Regions from separate parts of the Homo sapiens genome. Here region 1 is linked to region 2. The links are contacts of gene promoters, found by promoter capture Hi-C in human tissues and cell types (Jung and others, 2019). All regions are on one chromosome and are shown on one strand. Each heading gives the region's core, a stretch centred on a gene start or on the middle of the fragment in contact. The rest is flanking DNA. Distances are from core to core; before and after follow the strand shown.

Region 1 (3,292 bases), core at 280-2,779, 66 kb after region 2:
TACTGGGTATATAGCCAAAGGATTATAAATCATGCTGCTATAAAGACACATGTACATGTATGTTCACTGCGGCACTATTCACAATAGCAAAGACTTGGAACCAACCCAAGTGTCCATCAGTGATAGACTGGATTAAGAAAATGTGGCACATATACACCATGGAATACTATGCAGCAATAAAAAAGGATGAGTTCATGTCCTTTGTAGGGACATGGATGAAGCTGGAAACCATCATTCTCAGCAAACTATCACAAGGACAAAAAACCAAACACCGCATGTTTTCACTCATAGGTGGGAATTGAACAATGAGAACACTTGGTCACAGGAAGGGGAACATCACACACTGGGGCCTGTTGTGGGGTGGGGGTAGGGGGGGAGGGATAGCATTAGGAGATATACCTAATGTAAATGACAAGTTAATGGGTGCAGCACACGAACATGGCACATGTATAAATATGTAACAAACCTGCATGTTGTGCACATGTACCCTAGAGCTTAAAGTATAATAATTACAAAAAATGCAGTAGAGAGCATCAACAGAAGAACTGATCAAGCAGCAGAAAGAATCAGTGAGCTGGAAAGACAAACTTTTAAAATACACAGTCAGAAGACAAAAAAGACAGAGAATGAAAAAAATGAAGAAAGATTATGGGATCTATGAGGCAACATCAAAATAGCAAATAATTGGGTTATTGAAGTTAAAGAGGAAACTGAGAAGGCAAAGGGGAAGAAAGCTTATTTTAAAAAATAATAACAGAAAATTTTCCAAATCTGAGAAACACATAAATATCCAGGTTCAGGAAGGCCAAATGTCACCAACATATTAAACACAAATGAGGATAATCCAAGACATATTAGAGTCAAACTCTCAAAGGGTAAAGACAAGGAGAGAATACTGAAAACAGTGAGAGAAAAGAAGCAAATCACATATAAGGAAGATCTAATACGTCTGGCAGCAGACTTCTCAGCAGAAACTTTGCAGGCCAGGAAGGACTGGGATGACACGTTAAGAGTGCTGAAGAAGGAGGAGCCAAGATGGCAGAATAGGAACAGCTCTGGTCTACAGCTCCCAGTGTGAGCAAGGCAGAAGATGGGTGATTTCTGCATTTCCATCTGAGGTACCAGGTTCATCTCACTAGGGAGTGCCAGACAGTGGGCGCAGGTCAGTGGGTGCGCGCACCGTGTGCGAGCCGAAGCAGGGCGAGGCATTGCCTCACTCAGGAAGCACAAGGCGTCAGGGAGTTCCCTTTCCTAGTCAAAGAAAGTGGTGACAGATGGCACCTGGAAAATCGGGTCACTCCCACCCGAATACTGCGCTTTTCCGACAGCCTTAAAAAACGGCACACCAGGAGATTATATCCCCCACCTGGCTCAGAGGGTCCTACACCCACGGAGTCTCACTGATTGCTAGCACAGCAGTCTGAGATCAAACTGCAAGGCGGCAGCGAGGCTGGGGGAGGGGCGCCCGCCATTGCCCAGGCTTGATTAGGTAAACAAAGCAGCCGGGAAGCTCGAACTGGGTGGAGCCCACCACAGCTCAAGGAGGCCTGCCTGCCTCTGTAGGCTCCACCTCTGGGGGCAGGGCACAGACAAAGAAAAAGACAGCAGTAACCTCTGCAGACTTAAATGTCCCTGTCTGACAGCTTTGAAGAGAGCAGTGGTTCTCCCAGCACGCAGCTGGAGATCTGAGAACGGGCAGACTGCCTCCTCAAGTGGGTCCCTGACCCCTGACCCCCGAGCAGCCTAACTGGGAGGCACCCCCCAGCAGGGGCAGACTGACACCTCACACAGCCGGGTACTCCAACAGACCTGCAGCTGAGGGTCCTGTCTGTTAGAAGGAAAACTAACAAACAGAAAGGACATCCACACCAAAAACCCATCTGTACATCACCATCATCAAAGACCAAAAGTAGATAAAACCACAAAGATGGGGAAAAAACAGAGCAGAAAAACTGGAAACTCTAAAAATCAGAGTGCCTCTCCTCCTCCAAGGAACGCAGTTCCTTACGAGCAATGGAACAAAGCTGGATGGAGAATGACTTTGACGAGCTGAGAGAAGAAGGCTTTAGATGATCAAACTACTCCAAGCTACAGGAGGAATTCAAAACAAAGGCAAAGAAGTTGAAAACTTTGAAAAAAATTTAGAAGAATGTATAACTAGAATAACCAATACAGAGAAGTGCTTAAAGGAGCTGATGGAGCTGAAAGCCAAGGCTCGAAACTACGTGAAGAATGCAGAAGCCTCAGGAGCCAATGCGATCAACTGGAAGAAAGGGTATCAGTGATGGAAGATGAAATGAATGAAATGAAGCGAGAAGGGAAGTTTAGAGAAAAAAGAATAAAAAGAAATGAACAAAGCCTCCACGAAATATGGGACTATGTGAAAAGACCAAATCTACGTCTGATTGGTGTACCTGAAAGTGACAGGGAGAATGGAACTAAGTTGGAAAACACTCTGCAGGATATTATCCAGGAGAACTTCCCCAATCTAGCAAGGCAGGCCAATATTCAGATTCAGGAAATACAGAGAACGCCACAAAGATACTCCTCGAGAAGAGCAACTCCAAGACACATAATTGTCAGATTCACCAAAGTGGAAATGAAGAAAAAAATGTTAAGGGCAGCCAGAGAGAAAGGTCGGGTTACCCTCAAAGAGAAGCCCATCAGACTAACAGCTGATCTCTCGGCAGAAACTCTACAAGCCAGAAGAGAGTGGGGGCCAATATTCAACATTCTTAAAGAAAATAATTTTCAACCCAGAATTTCATATGCAGCCAAACTAAGCTTCATAAGTGAAGGAGAAATAAAATACTTCACAGACAAGCAAATGATGACAGGTTTTCTCACCACCAGGCCTGCCCTAAAAGAGCTCCTGAAGGAAGCGCTAAACATGGAAAGGAACAACGGGTACCAGCCGCTGCAAAATCATGCCAAAATGTAAAGACCATCGAGACTAGGAAGAAACTGCATCAACTAACGAGCAAAATAACCAGCTAACATCATCATGACAGGATCAAACTCACACATAACAATATTAACTTTAAATGTAAATGGACTAAATGCTCCAATTAAAGACACAGACTGGCAAATTGGATAAAGAGTTAAGACCCATCAGTGTGCTGTATTCAGGAAACCCATCTCACATGCAGAGACACACATAGGCTCAAAACAAAAGGATGGAGGAAGATCTACCAAGCAAATGGAAAACAAAAAAAGGCAGGGGTTGCAATCCTAGTCTCTGATGAAACAGACTTTAAACCAACAAAGATCAAAAGACACAAAGAAGGCCATT
Region 2 (3,246 bases), core at 153-2,652:
CTATGACAACTATAGAAGCCAGGCTTTAATCTTTGAGGAAATGCAGAGGAAGGAGTCACAGTTCTGACATTTATAATGGGAGAAAGAGAGAGACCTCGTTATTGAGGAGCCCCTGGGCTAATATGATGAAGCGACACACACACACATACACACACACATGCACACACGCACGCACACACACACAGAGTAGCTCAAAGACATTCAAGCAGCTTTACATTACTATACAAGAAAACCCAGCTGCATGAATAGGGATACTCAGGAGATTACAGTGATCCAACTTAGTTTGTAGGCATTATATTCAGGAGTAGCTTCAATACATGCAATAAACATTCTTCTGTAAGGAATGAAACACCATCATTGAAGGTACTATCCTTTCAGAATCTAATAATCATTTCAGAATCACATACCCATTAATAACCTATAGTCCAGGGCAAGAGATCTGTGGTATTCTCTTAAGACCTTAGGTCTTTTACTGACATTTCATCCTGTGCATCAACTTTGCCAAACCCTGCTTCATGTCTTTGTTCCTCAGACTATAGATAAATGGATTTAGCATAGGAGTCAGTACGGTGTAGATAATTGTTGCTATTTGATCCTTGACAGTATAGTTGGACAGGGGCTGAAAATAGAGATAGCTAATGCTTCCATAAAACAGGGTCACCACTGTGAGATGAGAGCCACAGGTAGAAAATGCTTTACGCTTTCCAGCAGCTGAAGGAATCTTCAGAACAGTGATGAGGATTCTTAAATAAGAGATGATGATGCATGAAAACGGGGTCATTATGACAGCCAAGCCTTCTGTCATTACTGTGATTTCTTTGACAAAATGGGAGGAACAGGACAATTTTAGCACTGGTTGATCATCGCAGAAAAAGTGATGGATGACATTTGAGGCACAGAAGATGAGCTGATTAGTCAGAAGAATGTGCAGGAGGGAGTGAAAATGTGGAATGCAGAAGGAGAGAACCAGAAGCAGGACACAGCATCTGTGACTCATAATGGTGATGTAGTGGAAGGGATTACATATGGCCACATAGCGGTCAATGGCCATGGCTGCTAGCAGGTAACTGTCTGTGTTTCCAAAGGCTAAGAAAAAGTACATCTGGGTCAGACACTCACTGTAAGAGATGGTCTTTGTCTCTGATAAGAAGTTCACCAGCATCTTAGGGATAATGACTGTCACATAGCAAATGTCAACAAAAGACAGGATGCTTAGAAAGAAGTACATGGGCGTCTGGAGACGAGTGTCTGAGCGGATGGCCAGGATGATAAGCAGGTTTCCTATCACTGTGATAAGGTAGATGGGGAGGAACACAGCAAAGAGCGGCTTCTGATCCTCAGGTCGAGAGGAGAGTCCAAGGAGGATGAATTCAGAGGGTCTTGTTAGGTTATTTCTTCCCATAGTTGTGGGTTCACCTAAAGATAAACTAACACTGTAACAGATTCTTCCAACATCTGATACAATCTGTCCAAAATTTCTCCTTTTATTCTTCTTATCAGCAAAGAAAAAATTTAAAACATTACAATTATCTGGATTGTGGTTTCTTTCCATTAATGTGGGATATTTAGAAATTAATATATATTTTAATCTCAGTTGCCTGCTATAAAGAAACAAATTACAGGGAAACAGAAATGGGAAAAAGAGAAAAGAAGAGATATAGGGCAAGAGGAAGGAGTGAGTGCAAGAGAATTCCCAGAAGGAGAGGAGGGGAATCCTGGAGAAATTATTCTCTTCTTTTTCTGTATATATTTATCGTATTCACGGTTTTCAGTAATTAGTTTATGACAGGTTTAAAAAAGTTTCATCTCTCAATTTCCAGCTGATGGAATAATGATTTCCCTTAGTTCGGATACTTCTGTCTGCATCAGTTATTCTGGAGGCTGGCAATCATGTAAAAAGACATTGAAATATGAGATTACCCAACAGTTACTCCATTTCCCTCATTTTTTAGTGAAACCTTATTTGAGTGAAAGGATAGGTATGAAGAGGCAAAAGATAGACAGAAATAACAGGATAGTAAAAACATTTCTTTTCCTTATTTTTTTTTTTTTGAGACAAGGTCTTGCTTTGTCACCCAGGCTGGAGTGCAGTGGCACAATCTTAGCTCACTGCAACCTCTGCCTCCTGGGTTCAAGCGATTCTCCCCCCTTAGCCTCCTGAGTAGCTGGGATTACAGGCTTGTGCCACCACACCCAGCTAATTTTTGTATTTTTAGTAGAGATGGGGTTTCACCATGTTGGCCAGGCTGGTCACGAACTCCTGATCTCAAGTGATCCGCCCACCTTGGCCTTCCAAAGTGGTGGGATTACAGGCATTAGTCACCGCACCCGGCCAACATTTCTTTTAATGTAACATAAACCTCATTTTTGTTATCCAGCCCCTAAATGCTAAAATCGTCATTGTTAGTGCATGCTTGTCTGTGTTGGTGTAATTCTTTTCCCAATTCCAGTCTCAGTTATATATATGCTTCCCCAAAAAACCACACAGAGAAGGCACCTGATTCTAGACAAGCTTTCAACCCTCATGAAGCTGAAGATTTTCCTCTCTTCCTCCTCTGGGCCTCCCACATGCTGAAGAGATTAAAGACACTCATAGACCCCACCCTCTGTCAAGGGAGCATCCTTTGAGATCATCAAGAAGTCCCTGGAGTTCAGATGGAGAAGACAGCAGAAAACAAGCCAAGAACTATTACGGTTTTGGAGTTTCTTCCCCAAGGAGCCTGGGGAGTGTCAGTGCCTTCTCTCTCTCTCAGAAATCACCCTCCTGACCTAACTCCTTTTGGTGAAAAAGACCCCACCTGTGTGAGGCTGGCTCAAGTGACAGACTTCCTGAGCCTCACCGCTGTGCTGCTTACATTGAAAGACAGAATGTGGGGTTGGAGAACGTTTTCTCGGAATTCGTTGATCATCAAGCTAAAACAACTAGAACATCTTATGCCACTAGTCACTTTCCCATCTCCCAGTGTTAGAAGCAGTCCCTTGCTAGACACTGTTCTTAGAACTTTAAAATATAATAAGCAATAGGGTTAAGACTTTAGACCCTAGGCCTGGAATCTTTACTCTTCTGTCTGAAGCATCCTTAAGTCTACTTATGTATGACCCTTGCTTCTCACTCAGGAAAGCCATCAGGGCATATATATATAGCGTTAGCTATTAATTTTATTACAGTTGTAACACACAAACATTAAGCAAACCAGATCGATATTTTTATTGTTAAAGCAACTTTCAAAAAAAGTGGTTGGGGCC

The links. The method cuts DNA at HindIII sites, captures the fragments that hold promoters and counts their contacts. A contact is called where the count stands out against the background at its distance.
Region 1: a contact is called between a fragment that was not itself captured here and the fragment with the promoter of OR1L1 in region 2, in 2 of the 25 tissues and cell types used here (heart right ventricle and mesendoderm cells).

Annotation. Positions count from the first base shown.
Region 1 is chr9:122,593,899-122,597,190 of GRCh38, reverse strand. No RefSeq gene overlaps it. Among named protein-coding and RNA genes, the nearest start is that of OR1L8, 12 kb to the right of the region's middle. The HindIII fragment of the contact is 4,400 bases long and covers 1-3,292 here.
Region 2 is chr9:122,659,872-122,663,117 of GRCh38, reverse strand. OR1L1 (olfactory receptor family 1 subfamily L member 1) reads right to left here and starts at 1,402. Exons shown (of 1, transcript NM_001005236.3): 1 at 470-1,402. The coding sequence starts at 1,402. The coding sequence ends at 470. The HindIII fragment of the contact is 8,013 bases long and covers 1-3,246 here.